Regions from separate parts of the Homo sapiens genome. Here region 2 is linked to region 1. The links are contacts of gene promoters, found by promoter capture Hi-C in blood cells and fetal thymus (Javierre and others, 2016). All regions are on one chromosome and are shown on one strand. The core of a region is centred on a gene start or on the middle of the fragment in contact, and the rest is flanking DNA. Distances in the headings are between cores, read along the strand shown. Region 1 holds the start of IL21R (interleukin 21 receptor). Region 2 has its middle 51 kb from the start of C16orf82.

What was found. Contacts are between HindIII fragments. The CHiCAGO score rates a contact against its expected background, and 5 or more counts as called.
Region 2: a fragment that was not itself captured here is called in contact with the fragment with the promoter of IL21R in region 1 in 5 of 17 cell types (total CD8 T cells, total B cells, naive B cells and 2 more); the score reaches 6.4 in total CD8 T cells.

The regions. Positions count from the first base shown.
Region 1 is chr16:27,397,005-27,403,423 of GRCh38, forward strand. IL21R (interleukin 21 receptor) reads left to right here and starts at 5,170. Exons shown (of 9, transcript NM_181078.3): 1 at 5,170-5,614. RefSeq lists enhancers at 5,247-5,789, 5,682-5,801. The HindIII fragment of the contact is 2,346 bases long and covers 4,374-6,419 here.
Region 2 is chr16:27,115,070-27,121,488 of GRCh38, forward strand. No RefSeq gene overlaps it. Among named protein-coding and RNA genes, the nearest start is that of C16orf82, 51 kb to the left of the region's middle. The HindIII fragment of the contact is 827 bases long and covers 3,197-4,023 here.

The sequences.
Region 1 (6,419 bases), core at 3,920-6,419:
AAGCACACTATCAACAAAGTGAAAAGACAGCCACAGAATGGGAAAAATATTTGTAATTCATATATCTGATAAAGGTGAGTTTCCAGAATATACAAAGAACTCTTAAAATTCAACAACAAATGATGAACAATCAAATTTAAAAATTGGCAAGGAGCTGGGCACGGTGGCTTATGCCTGTAATCCCAGCACTTTGGGAGACTGAGGTGGGCGGATCACCTGAGGTTAAGGGTTCGAGACCAGCCTGGTCAACATGGTGAAAACCCGTCTCTACTAAAAACACAAAAATTAGCTGGATATGGTGGCACACGTTTGTAAGCCCAGCTACTCGGGAGGCCGAGGCACAAGAATCGCTTGAACCCAGGAGGTAGAGGTTTCAGTGAGCCAAGATCACACCACTGCACTCCAGTGTGGGAGACAGATCAAGACTCTGTCTAAAAAAAAAATAAAATAAATAAAATTTGGCAAGGGACTTCAATAGACATTACTCCAAACAAGATATGCAAATGACTACCAAGCACATGAAAAGATGCTTACCATCATTAGCCATTAGGGAAATGCAAATCAAAACCACAATGAGATACCACTTCACATCCGCTAGGATGGCTATAATAAAAACCAACAGAAAATACATATTGTCTGCTGGGTGCGGTGGCTCACGCCTGTAATCCCAGCACTTTGGGAGGCCGAGGCGGGCGCATCACGAGGTCAGGAGATCGAGACCATCCTGGCTAACACGGTGAAACCCCGTCTCTACAAAAGAAAATACAAAAAATTAGCCAGGCGTGGTGGCAGGCACCTGTAGTCCCAGCTACTCGGGAAGCTGAGGCAGGAGAATGGCGTGAACCCGGGAGGCGGAGCTTGCAGTGAGCCGAGATCGCGCCACTGCACTCCAGCCTGGGCGACAGACCGAGACTCCATCTCAAAAAAAAAAAAAAAAAGAAAAAAAAAAAAAAGAAAATACATATTGTCAAGGACGTAGAGAAATGGGAACCTTCAGACATTGCTGGTGGGAATATAATACAGGGCAGCTGCTGTGAAAAACAGTTTGTCAGTTTCTTAATAAGTTAAACTTATTTAAAAGTTAATAAGTTAAACTACCTTTAACTCAACAAGTCTCCTTCTGGGTATATATCCAAAAGATTTGAAAATGCATGTCTACACAAAGACTCGCATGCAAGTGTTCATAGCATGCTTGTTTGTAGTAAAGGAAAAAGTGGACATACTCCAAATGTCCATCATCTCATGAAAGGATAAATGAATGTGGCATATCTATGCAATGTAATATTCTTCAGCAATAAAAATCAATTTTTATTTTTTATTTTTTTGAGATGGAGTTTCGCTCTGTCTCCCAGGCTGGAGGGCAGTGGCACTAGCTCTGCTCACTGCAACCTCCACTTCCCGTGTTCAAGCAATTCTCCTGCCTCAGCCTCCTGAGTAGCTAGGGCTACAGGTGCACGTCACCATACCTAACTAATTTTTGTATTTTTAGTAGAACAGGGTTTCACCATGTTGGCCAGGCTGGTCTCAATCTCCCGGCGTGTGCAACCACACCAGGCTAATTATTGTATTTTTTAGTAGAGGCGGGGTTTTACCATGTTGTCCAAGCTGGTCTCGAACTCCTGATCTCAAGTGATCCGCCCACCTTGGCCTCCCAAAGTGTTGAGATTACAGGCATGAGCCACCGCGCCTGGCCTAAAAATGGATTTTTAGATATGTGGTGCCAACACACGCTACAACGTGGTTGAACCCCAAACACGCGATGCTGAAAGAAACTAAACACAAAAGACAACATATTGATATGAGATGCCTAGGAAAAAAAAAAAGCAAAATCAGTAGAGGCATAAAGTAGACGAGTGGCCCTGGGAATGGGAATGGAGATTGACTATAAGCAGGCACAAGGAACCTTTCAGGAGTGATGGGATTGTTTTAAAATTGGATCGTGGTTATAATTGCACAATTCGATAAATTCACTAAAAATCATTGAACTGTACATTTACAGTGGCTTGATTTTATGTTATGTAAAACATAGCTAAATAAAGCTCTTAAAATAAAAATAAAAAAGAGGAAATGGGTTGAGGGAGGGGGTGTGTCAATTATTTTTTCCCAGGAGGCCCCTTGGCTGAAATGCAAATGTGACCACTTCCTCCCCGCTGACCAGCTATCAGCACTGAGGCATGGTTGGAGGGCCGCTGAGATCCTATGGCACCTTCCTTCCAAGGGTATAGAGGCCATACTTATGAGACATTTACAGACCCAGAGGAACCCCTCAAGGGACCACATGTCTATTTCTGAGGGGACTCATGTTTACCCCAGTGGACATGGGCCTGGCAGCTCCAAATGCATCTACTTTTTAAGCACCAAGGGACTGTGACCCCTGCTGATCCCACCCATTCCCCAACTCCTGGCCTGAACTGAAAATGTAAACTGGATTAAGCCACTCTTAAGATGAAACCCTCCAATGATGACTTCCCATTTCCTTTGGAACAATCTACCTTCCTCACCCAAAACCGTGAGGTCCCATGTGGTGTAGATGTGTGATTTCCGTGCCTTCACCTTCTACTATTCCTCCATTTGCTCACTGTATTACGCCATGCTGTTCTCAAGTTCCTGGAGCCAGCCACATTCTTTCCTACCTCAGTGCCTTTGCACTTGCAGATCCTTCTGCCGATAATGTTCTTCCCATGGCTGGGCACTTCTTAGCACCTAGTGTACCCCCAAATGTCACAACCTTGATCTCTCATTGGTTTTCTATGACATTTAGTACAGTTTACATTGAGTTTGTCTGTTACTTCTTTTTGTCTAACTCTCCCTACTAGAATATAGGCTCCATGGGGGCTGTCACTGTGTGTATATTTCTGTGGGCTAGCCCCAGGATGTAGCCAAGCTGCGTGATTTTGGACAAGTCACTTAACCTCTCTGAGCCTGCTCAATAAATATTAGGGGGAGGAAGCAAGGAATGGCTGGGTGGGTGGGTGCAGAGAAGAATGAATGGGTGGATAGGTAGGTGGGTGGGTAGAAAGCAGGTAGATAAAGAAGGCAGGCAGGAGGGAGGGAGGAGAAATTGAATATCCTTGTTTTCATACACACCCCAGAGCAGTGTAGTGAGTTAAGAGTGCGGGCTCTGGAGCCCAAATGACTGAGTTCAAATCCCAACTCTGGCACTCATCAGCTGTGTGACCTTGGACAAGTCACTTAACCTCTCTGAGCCTCAGTTTCCTCATCTGTAAAACAGGGACGATGATGATGATGATGATAACTATCTTCTAGACTCATTCTTTTTCATTTTGGGGATTTTATTTTTGAAGACAGAGTCTTGCTCTGTTGCCCAGGCTTGAGTGCAGCACTACAGTCATAGCTCACTGCAGCCTTCAGCTCCTTGGCTCAAGTGGTCCTCCCACCTCAGCCTCCAGAGTAGCTGGGACTACAGGCGTGCACCACCATGACTGTCTAATTTTTAAATTTTTTTATAGAGACAGGGTCTTGCTATGTTGCCCAGACTGGTCTTGAACTCCTAGCCTCAATCGATCCTCCCACCTCAGCCTCCCAAAATGATGGAATTATAGGTGTGCACCGCTGCACACAGCCTTCTCGAGTATTTCTGAGGTTTAAATGAGAGGGTGCATCTTTAAAGTCCTTAAAACCCTGGCACACAATGAGCTTTCAGCAAATATTAGCTCTTTTTACTGTCTCTTCTCCTGATCTTTCAACCACTACAAATTTCAGTGCATGTTATCAGAGAATTCACCCCGAAGATCAAGAGAAAGAAAAACAAAAGCTGGTGTCTTCCCAAGGTTCGTTCTCCAGAGAACACGACACACTTCGGTAGCTGGGAAGAGCTCTACAGGGCCAGGATCCCTCAAATCAACCACAGGGGAATTTGTACCAAGTTCCTCAAAAACAGCTAGAAAAAAAAAGAAAGAAAGAATAGCAAGACGCTTTCTCTTTTTTCTCTGGAGTGGTCACGAAAGTCAACAGCAAGTTGATTCCCAAAAATGAGTCAGCAGGGAGAGCTACAAATTGCATCTTGTTATCAAAACAGCATAAAATAGCCTCCCCCAACTGTGGGACATTTCATCCTGGTATGGCCCCGTTTTCACAGCCTGGTATAAGCTTAGGAATCAAACACACCCAGGTTCAAATCCCAGCTCTAATTCTTCTTGGCTTGTGTGACGTTTCACTCCTCTGGGCCTCAGTCTCTCCATCTGTAAAATGGGACTAATCTTGTCTGCCTCACACTTTGTGGGATAAAGTGAGATCATGTAGGCACCAAAGTAATTCGAGGTGGTGGTGATGGCAGTGGTAGTGGTGGTGGTGGTAGCGGTGGTGGTGGTAGCAATTCTCTTGCTCTCCTTTGGAGACTGCACTAGGCATTAAGCTTGTTACATTTTGTCTCCTGGTTTCTTGAATGTCTTCCAGAAACATCTGACCCTCTCATGGGCCTCTGGCATGTTAGCAAGATGAAAACTCTCTTGAGAATTTCTTTTCTCTATTTTCTTCTTGAATTCTCATGTGTTAATGTCTGCCCTCTTCCTCATAGCTAGGTGCCCCCATTTGACAGATGGGCAAAGTGAGGCATTCAGAGAGGTGATGTGACGTGCCCAAGGGGTCCTGCTCCCTGGAGCTCTGCAGCAGGAGACTGGATCCAAAGGAAATGGAGGCAGAGAGGCATGGGGGTCAAGCCAGAGCAGAGGGTCCCAAGCTCAGACCCTATTAGGCAGGTAAGGCTCAGGAATAAGAAACAGGCTGGTTTGCAAAGTCTGAAAAAGGGGCTTCCGTGGGACCTTGGGCAAGGTTCTGGTCCTTCTCTCTGTGCTGAGGGGCTGGAGTCGGCCACTGAGGACTCTGGGTCCACGGGTGAAACTGTGCCACATCTTCACACCTCTGGCCTCAGTTTCCATATCTGTGCAATGTGGTGGCTCCAGGAGGCACTGCCTGCCTCATGGGTTATGACTGAGAGGCCTGTGGGGATGATGTCACAGGTCCCTAAGAGGGAAGTGTCACCCCGATGGCCCCAAATGTCTTACTTGCAGGTGACCTTTGGTGACAGTGGGTGCCTGCTGTGGGGCCAGGCCCCCTCCCACCTCTTTCTCACTCCCTCCCAGGAGGAGCCCAGCTGCGGGTGGGCGGGGCTGGCGGGGAGCGGCTCACCACATCCTCCTCTTCCTCCCCACTCTGCACATGCGGCTGGGTGGCAGCCAGCGGCCTCAGACAGACCCACTGGCGTCTCTCTGCTGAGTGACCGTAAGCTCGGCGTCTGGCCCTCTGCCTGCCTCTCCCTGAGTGTGGCTGACAGCCACGCAGCTGTGTCTGTCTGTCTGCGGCCCGTGCATCCCTGCTGCGGCCGCCTGGTACCTTCCTTGCCGTCTCTTTCCTCTGTCTGCTGCTCTGTGGGACACCTGCCTGGAGGCCCAGCTGCCCGTCATCAGAGTGACAGGTCTTATGACAGCCTGATTGGTGACTCGGGCTGGGTGTGGATTCTCACCCCAGGCCTCTGCCTGCTTTCTCAGACCCTCATCTGTCACCCCCACGCTGAACCCAGCTGCCACCCCCAGAAGCCCATCAGACTGCCCCCAGCACACGGAATGGATTTCTGAGAAAGAAGCCGAAACAGAAGGTAATTCCAGCCCTGGTTTTCTGCTGGGACCAGGGTGCCTTCTCTGCCCAGGAGGGACTGTTCCCTGCCTGCTGCATCTAGTGTCACAGTGGGAGGGCTCGGAGGACTGTGCCCAAGTCACAATTGGGGACACTGAGGCAAAGAAGATTCATGCAGTGAGGCTGGGCAGAAATGAGGTTGGGGTCTCTTGTTCAGCACAGCTTAGGGGCCCAGCAGCAGGGATGTGGCTGAGACGACCCTCTATCTTGAAAACCAGCCTCCAAAATGTAGCGGGCTGGGGAAGGAAAGCCAGTTTCAAGCCAAACATAACATGTCAATCACCCGATTCTGGGCGGCTGAGTCGGGAGGTGACGGGCATGGGTGTAGAGCCTGATGGGACCCATTCTGTGTCAGTTTCTATGTCTTACCACCTTGATTCCACCCAGTCATTCAAAACAATGGCTGGTGTGCCCATTTCGCAGATGAGGCAATGAGGCTGCGAGAGGTAGAGTGATTTTCCCTCGGTGACTCAACTGGGACGTAGCAGGTCGGGCAGTCAAGCCAGGTGACCCCATGAGCTGTCGCTGCATCTTTCTCATGAAGCACGGGGAACGGGTCGGATGGTAAGAGGCCAACCCAGTTCCCTGTGCATGTGGAGGAGAGGAGGGTGGGGAGGTCAGTGGAGGCTGAGCCTTGAAGGATGGGAAAGGAAGAACATTCCTGGTGGAGGAGCCCTGGGGAGCGGGAACTTAGGACTTGCCGCAGGAATGACGTCTCTGCTCAGTGAAGGCAGAAGACCAGGTGCGGGACATTCAAAGCCAGGAGG
Region 2 (6,419 bases), core at 2,360-4,859, 280 kb before region 1:
CTGATGAAAGAGCTTTGGCACAGGGCTCAGACACACCTGGGTTTCACTCCTGGCTCTGCTATGCCCATTGCCTCTCTGGCCCTCAGTTCCGCCATCTATTAAAAAGGAAACCCAAATGGAACCCAACATACTGGGGTCGTGGAAAGGAGCAATGAGACCCAGGCACGTAAGGCAGCCAGCACTGCCCTGCCCCATGCCAGGGATTTGAAGAGCAGCAAAGAGAATGAGATGCTGAAGGGTCCCTGGGAAAGGGTCCCGGGTCTTCCCCACCCAGGCTGAAGCCCAATCAGGAGAGGAAGGTGGACCTGTGAAGGTAGGGGCGGTGCCTAGACTAATGTAGCTGGGAGAGGCTTCCAGAGCTCTCCATGCACAAGCTGGTGTGGAGCAGTGCAGGAGTCCCAGGCGTGTAAGAGCAATGTGGACGTGGTGAAGGACTCAGGAGGGTTCAGAAAAATTCAGTAATTGTCTGGGCGTGGTGGTTCATGCCTGTAATCCCAACATTTTGGGAGGCTGAGGCAGGTGGATCACCTGAGGTCAGGAGTTTGAGACCAGCCTGGCTAATGTGGTGAAACCCCCTCTCCACTAAAAAGACAAAAATTAGCTGGGCATGGTGGCGCATCCCTGTAATCCCGGCTATTCAGGAGGCTGCGGCAGGAGAATCACTTGAACCTGGGAGGTGGAGGTTGCAGTGAGCCGAGATGATGCCACTGCACTCCAGCCTAGGCGATAGAGTGAGACTCCGCCTCAAAAAAAACAAGAAAAAAAAAAAGGAAGAAAAGAAAAAGAAAAGGAAAGAAAAGCTCAGTAACTTCCCAGTGCATCTCATTGAACTTAGCATGGGCACCCACCTGATCTCAATGCACCCAGGAGTTGGCATTCGAGGGCAGCAAGGAGCATCCCTCAGACTTGGATGCAGTTATACACAGCGCCACAGCAGCACGCATGGCCTGACGTCAAAGACTGGCTGAGAATCTCAGAAAATCATGGATGTCCCCTCCCCAACACCCTGACCTCCGCCCCTGCCGAACTTAGGGGTAACCCCAAGGAATGTAAGGAAACCTAAATTGATTGGAAGAATGGACACAAATTAAACATGGTTATGAACTTTGTTAGTCCATTTTGCATTGCTGTAAAGGAATACCTGAGGCTGGGTAATTTATTAAAAGAAAGGAGGTTTATTTGGCTCAAGGTTCTGCAGGCTGTGCAAGCATGGTGCCAGCATCTGCTCAGTTTCTGGTGAGGCCTCAGGAAGCTTTTAATCATGGCAGAGAGGAAGAGGAGCCAACGTGTCACATGATGAGAGGGAGCAAGAGAGACATGGGAGGTCCTAGACTCTATTCTTCCTTTAATTTTTCAACTTTTGTGGGTACATAGTAGTGTATATATTTATGGGGTACATGAGAGATTTTGATACAGGCAGGCAATGCATAATAATCCTATCAAGGTAAACGGGGGATCCATCATTGGAAGCATTTATCCTTTGTGTTACAAACAAGCCAATTACACTCTTTTAGTTATTTATAAATGTGTAATTAAATTATTATTGACCATAGTCACACTGTTGTGCTATCAAATCTATCAAATACTAGGTCTAATTCTCCTTTTTTTTTTTTTTTTTTTTTTTTTTTGAGATGAAGTCTCGCTCTGTTGCCCAGGCTGGAATGCAGTGGCATGACCTCAGCTCACTACAACCTCCTCCTCCCAGGTTCAAGTGATTCTCCTGCATCAGCCTCCTGAGTAGCTGGAGCTACAGGCACCCACCACCACACCTGGCTAATTTTTGTATTTTTAGTGGAGATGGGGTTTCACTATGTTGGCAAGGCTGGTCTTGAATTCCTGACCTCAAGTGATCCACCCGCCTTGGCCTCCCAAAGTGCTGGGATTACAGCCATGAGCCACTGCACCTGGCCCTTATTCATTCTTTCTAACTATTTTTGTACTCATTAGCCTTCCCAACTCCTCCCCGCCACCAACCGGCACCCCCCACTACCCTTCGCAGCCTCTGGTCACCATCTTTCCCAGGCTCTAAATTTTTAACGGCCAGATCTCACATGAATAGAATGAGAACTCACTCATTACCACCAGGAGGGCACCAAGACATTCATGAGGGATCTGCCCCCATTTCCCACTAGGCACCACCTTTAACATTGGGAATCACATTTCAACATGAGATTTGGAGGAGACAAACATCCCAACCATAGTGTGAAGTGAATGAATAAAGAGAGTGATATTTCCCATGCACCTGAGATGTGGACTGACATTTCTACCACATGGTACGTTGCCAGAATCCTCCATTGGGTGTGTGTGTGTCTTGCGACTTGAATGAGCCTGAGAAGCCTTGAGACTTCTTCCTGGGCCTCGGAAGGGCTGTCCTTATCAGGGACAGCTATTCTGCAAGAACTCTGCATGGGGAAGAGTAGAAATGACTGGGGGTGTAAATGTTGTCTGATTAATCACAAGAGAAAGTGCCTCTTAGATGGAGCTGCCCAGTGATGGAAAGGACTACCATGAAAGGAAGCGAGTTTCCTATTCCTGCAGGTATGCAAGTGACACTGTCAGAGGTGTGGAGAAGTAACTCCTACCTGTGGAGTTTGCCTGACTAAAATAACACTGAGGCCCCTCTGAAGCTTTATAGGCTCTGAGTCTTCCAGCAGAGCCCAGAGTGATGTTGGGTAATCAGAGACGGAATTAGCTGAATGCATGGGGAGGGGAGGAGGAAGAGAGAAGGAAGAAGAATAGGAAACAGTAAGGGAGGAGAGTAGGAGAAAGGAAATAAGGGTCCCAACTGAGAAGGCCCAACATTAGTCAAAAGTTTTTCAAAGAAAGGCCGGGCGTGGTGGTTCACGCCTGTAATCTCAGCACTTTGGGAAGCTGAGGCGGGCAAATCACTTGAGGTCAGGAGTTCGAGACCAGCATGGTCAACATGGCAAAACTCCATTTCTACCAAAAATACAAAAGTTAGGCGGGCATGGTGGCGTGCACCTGTAATCCCAGCTACTTGAGAGGCTGAGGCAGGAGAATTGCTTGAACCCAGAGGGCAGAGGTTGCAGTGAGCTGAGATAGCACCACTGCACTCCAGCCTGGGCAAGAGAATGAGACTCCATTTCAAAAAAAAAAAAAAAAAAAAAAGTTTTTCAAAGATAATATTTCCCAAGTGGGGGCCACATGTTCACAACAGTCAGAATAGCTTAAACCAAGCTTGTCCAGCCTGCAGCCTGCAGGCCACATGCAGCCCAGAATGGCTTTGAATGTGGCCCAACACAAATTCAAAAACTTTCATAAAACATTATGAGATTTATGCATGGCGCTTTTTTTTTTTTTTTAGCTTATCAGCCATCATTAGTGTTAGTGTATTTTATGTGTGGCCCAAGACAGTTCTTCCAATGTGGCCCAGGGAAGCCAAAAGATTGGGTGCCCCTGGACTATGCTGCAGTAACAAATTAACCTGAAATCTCAGTGCTTTGGCACAGTAAATGTATTTCTCACTCATGTAGAGTCCAGGTGTCCCTATGGCTGTGATATCTGGAATGCAAGGAGGAGGATGGAATGCAAAAGGGAGCTGGAAAAAGCCCACTAGCATTACACTGCCACAGCCCAGCAGTGAAACGGCACTTCACTGCCACAGCCCAATAGTAGCACTCACCAGCCAGTGCCCAGAAGAAGTCACATGATCCCAACCATCTGCAAAGGAAGTTGAGAAACTTAGAGAAGACGGTGGATATTTTGAGAGCAATAATTTTCTCTACCACAGACACAGACCCATAATGGAACACAATTTTAGATGGTAAATACGATAATTTTTGGTGAAAATAAATAAAGCGTTAAAAAACATTGAGCTGCGTAATGAGAAAATTCTTCCCAGATCAATTATCTCAAAAGCCTCATAATTATGAGAAAGTCTCAGCTTGGTGATAATATGTCTTTAACACCTCCCTAAAAGTCTAACACTGCTAGTCTTTATCAATATATAAAGCACTGACCTCAGATTTAGAGCCTTCAAGAGAAAAGAGAATATTCTACTTAAGCTTACAAAACACTGGTGTGTTCCCATCATATTCATTTTCATGATTACCTCCTATTTACGGAAAATGATGCCAATTTTCCATGTAGGGTGACAAAGTAAAGTTTCCTTTTAAATAAATTTATTTTTTAAAATTGACTCTCTTTAAAGAAGACTATTAAGTTAGTAGTAGTATAGGTGGTACCCGAATATGGCAAAAAAGCATTAATGATGCAGTGTGAGTTATTGAAGTTTGTAAAATTCTGTTCCACCTCCAATTCAGCAGTGCATATATTGGATTTTTTATGTGTTTGTTTAGTATTTAATTGACAAAAAGATTTTATATTTTAAGGTGTATGACTGATGATTTGATATACATTGTTTAATGATGACCACAATCAAATTCATTAACATATCCATCATCACCCATGTCATACACCAGATCCCCAGAATTTGTTCATGTTATAACTGAATGTTTGTGCCCTGTGACCACCATTTCCCCATGTACCCAGTAACTACTGTTCTACTCTCTACTTCTATGAATTCAACTTTTTAATATTCTACATATAAATAAGACCATACATTATTTGTCTTTCTGGGTCTAGATTATTTCACTTCCCATAATTTCCTCTAAGTTCATCCATGTTGTTGCAAAAGACAGGATTTCATTCCTTTTTATGGCTGAATAATATTCTCCATTCATCCATCCATGGATATTTAGGTTGTTTCCATATCTTGGCTACCGTGAATACAGCTGCAATGAACATGAGGTGCAGATACCTCTTCGACATAGCAATTTCACAGCCTTTAGCTATATACCCAGAAGTTAGATGGCTGGATCATGTGGTACTTGTATTTGTGGCTTTTTGAGGAACCCCCATACTGTTTGCCCTAATGGCTATACTAATTTCCATTTCCACCAACAGTGTATAAGCATTTCTTTTTCTCTACACCCTCACCAGCACTTGCCAACTCTTATCTTTTTGATAATAGTCATCCTAACAGGTGCGAGATATCTCACTGTAGTTTTGTTTGCATTTATCTGATGATTAGTGATATTGAGCACTTTTTCATATACCTGTTGGCCATTTGTATGTCTTCCTTAGAAAAATGTTTATTCAGATCCTTTGCCAATTTTTTTTTTCCAATCTATACTCTTACTTTACTTTTTTTCCTTTTACTTTTATTTTGAGTTCTGGGGTACATGTGCAGAATGTGCAGGTTTGTTACATAGGTGTACCATGGTGGTTTGCTGCACAGATCAACCCATCACTTTGGTATTAAGCCCAGCATCCATTAGCTATTCTTCCTGATGCTCTGCCAATTTTTAAATAGCATTATTTGGGTTTGGGAGTTTTTTGTGTTGTTTTGTTTTGGGGGGTTATTTGGTTGATTGGTTTTGCTATTAAGTTATGTGAGTTCTTTCTATATTTTTGTTATTAGCCCCTTATGAGATGTACAGTTCACAAATATTTTATCCCATTCCATAGTTTGCCTTTGCATTTCACTTATTGTTTTCTTTGGTGTGCAGAAGCTTTTTAGCTTGATGTAGTCCCACTTGTTTGTTTTTCCTTTTGTTGTCTGTGCTTTTGATGTTATATCAAAAAATTCATTGCCAAGATCAATGACAAGGAGCTTTTCCCCTATGTTTTCTTCCATGAGTTTTATGGTTTCAGATCTTACATTTAAGATTTAAATACATTTTGAATTAACTTTTGTATATGGTGTAAACCAAGTGTCCAATTTTATTCTTTTGCATGTGCCTATCCAGTTTTCTTACCTTTACTCATCAGGGATATTGACCTGTGATTTTCTTTTCTTGTAGCATTCTTATCCTAGCTTGTCTCCTTTCAGGAATTGACAAGCTTATCCCAAAATTCTTATAGAAATCCAAGAATTCCATCTTGAATCTTAAAAAAAGTAAAAGTTCAAGAATTCACACTTCTCAGTTTCAAAACTTACTACAAAACTACAGTAATCAAGACAGTGCAGTATTGGCATATGTATCAGTGGAAAAAATTAGATTCCAGAAATAAATCCGTATAACTATGGTTGATTAATTTGGGGCAAGGGCCTATTCAATGGGAAAGGGATAGTTTTTTCAATAAAAGGTGCTGGGACAACTGGATATCTACATGTAAAAGAATGAATAATGTTGAATCCCTACCTCACACCATATACAAAAATTACTCAGAATGAATCAAAGGTTTAAATTTTAACAGCTAAAACTATCAGACTCTTAAAAATCAGAGAAAGAATTGAATTTGGACCTTAGATCTGATACCAAAATCATAAGCAAGAAAAATAACACTAGATAAATTAGACTTCATCACAATCTAAAACTTACTTCAGAGGACACCATTAAGAAAGTGAAAAGATAATCCAAAGAATAGGAGAAAAATTTTGCAAATCATATTTG